Linked DNA regions of Homo sapiens: region 1 is linked to region 2. The links are contacts of gene promoters, found by promoter capture Hi-C in blood cells and fetal thymus (Javierre and others, 2016). All regions are on one chromosome and are shown on one strand. Each heading gives the region's core, a stretch centred on a gene start or on the middle of the fragment in contact. The rest is flanking DNA. Distances are from core to core; before and after follow the strand shown.

Region 1 (2,700 bases), core at 61-2,560, 210 kb before region 2:
GCAATGTATAATAATCCCATCATGGAAAATGGGGTGTCCATCCCCTCAAGCATTTATCTTTTGTGTTACAAACAATCCATTATACTCTTTTATTTTTTATTTTTATTTTTGAGACAGTCTCGCTTTATTGCCCAGGCTGGAGTGCAGTAGCACAATCTTGGCTCACTGCAACCTCCGCCTCCCAGGTTCAAACGATTCTCCTCCCTCAGCCTCCCAAGTACCTGGGATTACAGATGACCACCACCATGCCCGGTTAATTTTTCTATTTTCGGTAGAGAGGGGGGTTTCACCATGTTGGTCAGGCTGGTCTCGAACTCCTGACCTCAGGTGATCCACCCACCTCGGCCTCCCAAAGTTCTGGGATTACCGGTGTGAGCCACTGTGCCTGGCCTACTCTTTTATTTTTATTTTATTTATTTTATTATATTTTTTGAGATAGAGTCTCGTTCTGTTGCCCAGACCGGAGTGCAATGGTGCAATCTCGGTTCACCGCAACATCCGCCTCCCAGGTTCAAGCAATTCTCCTGCCTCAGCCTCCCGAGTAGCTGGGATTACAGGCATGCACCACCATGTCTGGCTAATTTTGTAGTTTTATGAGAGACGGGGTTTCTCCATGTTGGTCCGGCTGGTCTTGAACTCCTGACCTCAGGTGATCCACCCGCCTCAGCTTCCCAAAGTGCTGAGATTACAGGCGTGAGCCACCGCACACAGCCCTTCTATTTTTTATTTTCTTTTTTTGTGTGTGTGAGACATAGTCTTGCTCTGTCGCCAGGCTGGAGTGCAGTGGCACAATCTCGACTCACTGCAACCTCCACCTCCCAGGCTCAAGCAATTCTCCTGCCGCAGCTTCCCCAGTAGCTGAGACTACAGGTGTGTGCCACCATGCCCAGCTAATTTTTGTATTTTTAGTAGAGATGGGGTTTCACCATGTTGGCCAGGATGGTCTAGATCTCTTGACCTCATGATCCACCCGCCTCGGCCTCCCAAAGTGCTGGGATTACAGGCGTGAGTCACGGCGCCTGGCCGCCCTCTTATTTATTTATGAGATGGAGTCTTGCTCTGTTGCCCAGGCTGGAGTGCAGTGGTGTGATCTCGGCTCACTGCAACCTCTGCCTCCCGGGTTCAAGTGATTCTCCTGCCTCAGCCTCTAGCTGGGACTACAGGCGTGTGCCACCACGCCTGGCTAATTTTTGTATTTTTAGTAGAGACGGGGTTTCACCATGTTGATTAGGGTGGTCTTGAACTCCTGACCTTCTGATCCGCCTGCCTCGGCCTCCCAAAGTGCTGGGATTATAGGCATGAGCTACTGCGCCCGGCCAATGCCTTTCGTTTTAATACCTACTTCAGATCCAGAGCTGCTCTCTCCCCTGGTTCTAAATCTCTCCTCTTGTTGAAGCCATGCTCTCACCAGCAAAACTCCAACCCTCAGCCTTTTTTCCATCTTGCAAGTTCATCTCTTGCATCCTGCATCCTGACTTTTGCTGTTAAATTTATCCTCTGGAGTTCCAGTTCTGAACCCATTCCTTTAGTGCAAGCTCTGCTCCTAAAATATAAACCTCATTGCTTAGCCTCAGACCTGCTTTTTCACTCTAAATCTAGCCATCAAGTTCTAAATCATGTATCTTTAAAAACATTGACACGGCCGGGCGTGTTGGCTCACGCCTGTAGTCCCAGCACTTTGGGAGGCCAAGGCAGGTGGATCACTTGAGGTCAGGAGTTGGAGACCAATCTGACGAACATGGTGAAACCCTGTCTCTACTAAAAATAGAAAAATTTGCTGGGTGTGCTGGTGCACGCCTGTAGTCCCAGCTACTCAGGAGGCTGAGGCAGGAGAATCGCTTGAACCCGGGAGGCGGAGGTTGCAGTGAGCCGAGATCGTGACACTGCACTCCAGCCTGGGTGATAGGGAGAGACTCCATCTTAAAAAACAACAACAACAACCCCAAAAAACAAAAAACCATTGATGCCTAGTTTTAAATGCATCTTCTCACTCTAAGCTGCTCCCACTAGATCTACAATCCAGACTTGGCAAGAACAGACCCATGCCAGCTGCAGTGGCTCACACCTGTAATCCCAGCACTTTAGGAGGATGAGGCAGGTGGATCACCTGAGCCCAGGAGTTTGAGGCTAGCCTGGGCAACATGGTGAAACTCTGTCTCTACTAAAAATAAAAGTGAAAAAATTAGCTGGGCCTGGTTGTGCACGCCTGTGGTCCCAGTTACTCAGGAGGCTGAGGTGGAAGGATCGCTTAAGCCCAAGAGTTCGAGGATGCAGTGAGCTATGATCAAGCCATTGCACGCCAGCCTGGGTGACAGAGGGAGGGACTGTCTCCAAAAACAAACAAAAAGAACAGACTCTCATATTCGTATGGTCACCTATTTATAATAGATGTAACACAGTAAAACAACATAGAAAGAAAAGACAGTTTTTTCTTTTTCTTTTTTTTTTTTTTGAGACAGTGTCTCGCTCTGTTGCACAGGCTGGAGTGCAGTGGCACGATCTCAGCTCACTGCAACCTCCACCTCCTGGGTTCAAGCAATTCTCCTGCCTCAGCCTCCCGAGTGGCTGGGATCACAGGCATGCACCACCACCCCCGGCTAATTTTTTTTTGTATTTTTAGTAGACACGAGGGTTCACCATGTTGGCCAGGCTGGTCTTGAACTTCTGACCTCTGGTGATCCACCCGCCTCGGCTTCCCAA
Region 2 (2,700 bases), core at 57-2,556:
TTTGTCTTTCCTCTTCACTGCTTTGTAACTTGGTCTATAACCCTTGACCCCTGCCTTCCTATGGTCCAATTACCTACTGTTCTGTGCTTCCTATTACTGTGAATTTCCAAAATGGTACAATTTGGATCCTCTCTCCCTTTCCAAGTCGTACTACCTTACGCTGTTCCACAATCTGATGCTCCCTTCCCCCTTACTGAGAATCTACAAGGTACAACCCCTTCCCTCCACCTCTGCCTCCCTGTGGTTTAGCCCAGGAATCTCACACACCCCCGGCTTCGCAACATGGTACAGTCCACACCCCCCCCCCCCCATGAAGACCTTCAAGTAGTTCAGCCTACTGCTGAATCTGGACGTCCCGATTCCCCCCTCCTATTGGCTTCTTGTGGTTCAGCCCAGTGCTTCTCGACCTAGTACATTCTGGTTCCCCGCTCGCAGACTTCCGACGGTAGGGCCCAGCGCGGCGCAGCCCACGCCCCCTGCACACCCCCCGCCCCTTCCATCCTATACTGACGCCCCCTGCCGTTGTTCTCTGTCTTACAGTGGATGGTGTCCCCCATGGTCGCTGAGACTCCCCTTCGAGGATTGCACCCGCCCGTCCTAAGCCTCCCCACAAGGCGAGGGGAGTTACCCCTAAAACAAAGCTATTAAAGGGACAGAATACTTCCTGTTTTCTCAGTGGTCTGATTCTAGGCGCGGTGGGGAAACATTTGGGTATTAAAGAACAGACTTCTTCCGGAAACCAATCTTCCTCTTTCTAAACCTCCGCTCTCGGTATTTTGGCTTCCTGCTTCTCAAAACCATCTTTAGGACCGCGGCCCCTTTAAGCGGCGCCCCTTTTCCCCCCATCACCCCCCTCGCCATCAGGCAGCACGAGCAGAGCCATGTGCTTCCCCCTCCCGCCTGCCTCATTGGCCCAAACTGGGTCACGGTCCCGCCCCCCAGTACCGCCTCCCATTGGGCAAATGTAGGTCAGTGTCCCGCCTCCCACCGAAAGGCAAGGCAACTTCACGCGCTGAGCCCCTCACGCGCCCTCCTGGGCCCTGGCGGACCCAGAGGCCCCATTGGCTGTGCGTCTCAAGGTGTCGGAGACGATTGGTCCGTGTTTGCAGCCGGAGGGAGGCACGCGGCTGGGTTGCATGCCCATAGAGGCTGGCGGGGCTGGACGCGCCGGGCGGGGACCCGGAGGAGGGGCGCGCGCTGTGGCGTCGGGTGTTTTGGTTTGGATTTTTTTTTCCGCGAAAGAAGTTTGCTTTGGCCACGCCTCAAGGCGGCCGCCTCCTCCTGCCCCCTCCTCCGCCCCTCCGCGCACACCTCTCGGTGCAGATTGCAAAGCGCCTTCCGTTGCGAGAGCTGCAGATTTTGCAAGAGCCAGGCTCGCCCACCTTGTAGAAGGAGCGCCTTGAGTCCCCTCTCACCCTCGGTTGCAAAGAGCCGACCGCTTGATCTGGACACCCCCTCGCCCAGATTGCATGATCTCCCGGGACCCTCTTGAGTTGCACGTTTCTGCACCGAGGACCTCAAATCCCCGTCGCTCCTAGGATTTGCAGCGTTCTGGATACTGGAGGGTTGCAGGCTACACTCGCCCGCCCCTGGGCAGACACTCGTCCAAACCACTGGAGTGTGCTGGTGACTGGCAGGCCAGCCCTTCGCCTCTCCATGAACCCGTGAGCCTGGGGGCAGGTGCCAGGCGATGGCGCGGCCTGTGAGCGACAGGACCCCGGCCCCTCTGCTGCTGGGCGGCCCGGCCGGGACACCCCCTGGCGGGGGAGCGCTGCTTGGGTTGCGGAGCCTTCTGCAGGGGACCAGCAAGCCCAAAGAGCCGGCCAGCTGTGAGTTCTAACCCCCATCTCACCCACTTCGGACACCCTACCCCCTTAGGGACTCAGGTGCCGTGGGGTGGGGTCCCATAGAAACCTGCGTGCGGGGAGTCCATCTTCCCAACCTTAATCTACTCAATTACTCAGGTGTTTAGGCCCCTAGATCCCTTAGCGCCCAGGACCCAAAAGCGCCGGCTCTGAAGCCCGTCCACCCTAAGGACCCAGGCACCAACGTCCCCAACGTCCTCCCCGCTTAGTTCACAAGAGTGTAGGCCCCAGCCTCCTCTTCCTTTTGGTCCGGGAGTCTGGACCCCTGGGGTCCCAGGGAGGGGGTGTGTCGGGTGCTCACACGGTGGTGACACGGGCTTGGGCGGGGCGTCATGGGGTCACATGGAGTCTAGGGATGAGGGATGTGCCCCAGGAATAGAGCCCCTTCCTGCCCCTTACAGATGGTGGGGGAGGGGAAGGGGGTACAGCGCGCAGGGGATGGGGGTTGGGTAATTACAGTGAAATTACAGAGCTGTCATTTTTTCTCTCACCTGCCCAACCCTCCACCTACCCTGTCCCTGCCCCCCTATTCCTGAACTTCCGTCTCTCTTTCTCTGGTTCGCTGTCTTTCTGTGTGTCTATTCCTTCCCGGCATTCTGTCCCCATCTCTGTGAATCTGTCCACCTGTCTCTGCCACCCCCGTCTCCATTCTTTCTGGGTCTCTCTCCCACTCTGCGTCTCCGTCCCTTTTTCTCCCGTCTCTCCTCTCCGACCCCCCGTCCCCTCTTTCTCTGGATCTCCGCCCTGTGCCTCTCGGACTCGGGGTCTCTTCTCCATCTCTATCTCCCCCACCTCACCCTCATCCCAACCCGTCTTTCCCGGCCCGCAGGTCTCC

The links. Contacts are between HindIII fragments. The CHiCAGO score rates a contact against its expected background, and 5 or more counts as called.
Region 1: a contact is called between a fragment that was not itself captured here and the fragment with the promoter of DBP in region 2, in 2 of 17 cell types (megakaryocytes and endothelial precursors). The highest score is 6.9, in megakaryocytes.

What each region holds. Positions count from the first base shown.
Region 1 is chr19:48,848,549-48,851,248 of GRCh38, reverse strand. All of the region lies in intron 13 of PLEKHA4 (pleckstrin homology domain containing A4), which reads left to right. Among named protein-coding and RNA genes, the nearest start is that of HSD17B14, 13 kb to the right of the region's middle. The HindIII fragment of the contact is 4,147 bases long and covers 1-2,700 here.
Region 2 is chr19:48,635,985-48,638,684 of GRCh38, reverse strand. DBP (D-box binding PAR bZIP transcription factor) reads left to right here and starts at 1,306. Exons shown (of 4, transcript NM_001352.5): 1 at 1,306-1,829; 2 at 2,695-2,700. The coding sequence starts at 1,691. CA11 (carbonic anhydrase 11) reads left to right here. Exons shown (of 9, transcript NM_001217.5): 9 at 541-739. The coding sequence ends at 566. It also overlaps the pseudogene SEC1P. RefSeq lists an enhancer at 89-258 and silencers at 869-1,088, 1,259-1,368, 1,599-1,718. The HindIII fragment of the contact is 6,625 bases long and covers 1-2,700 here.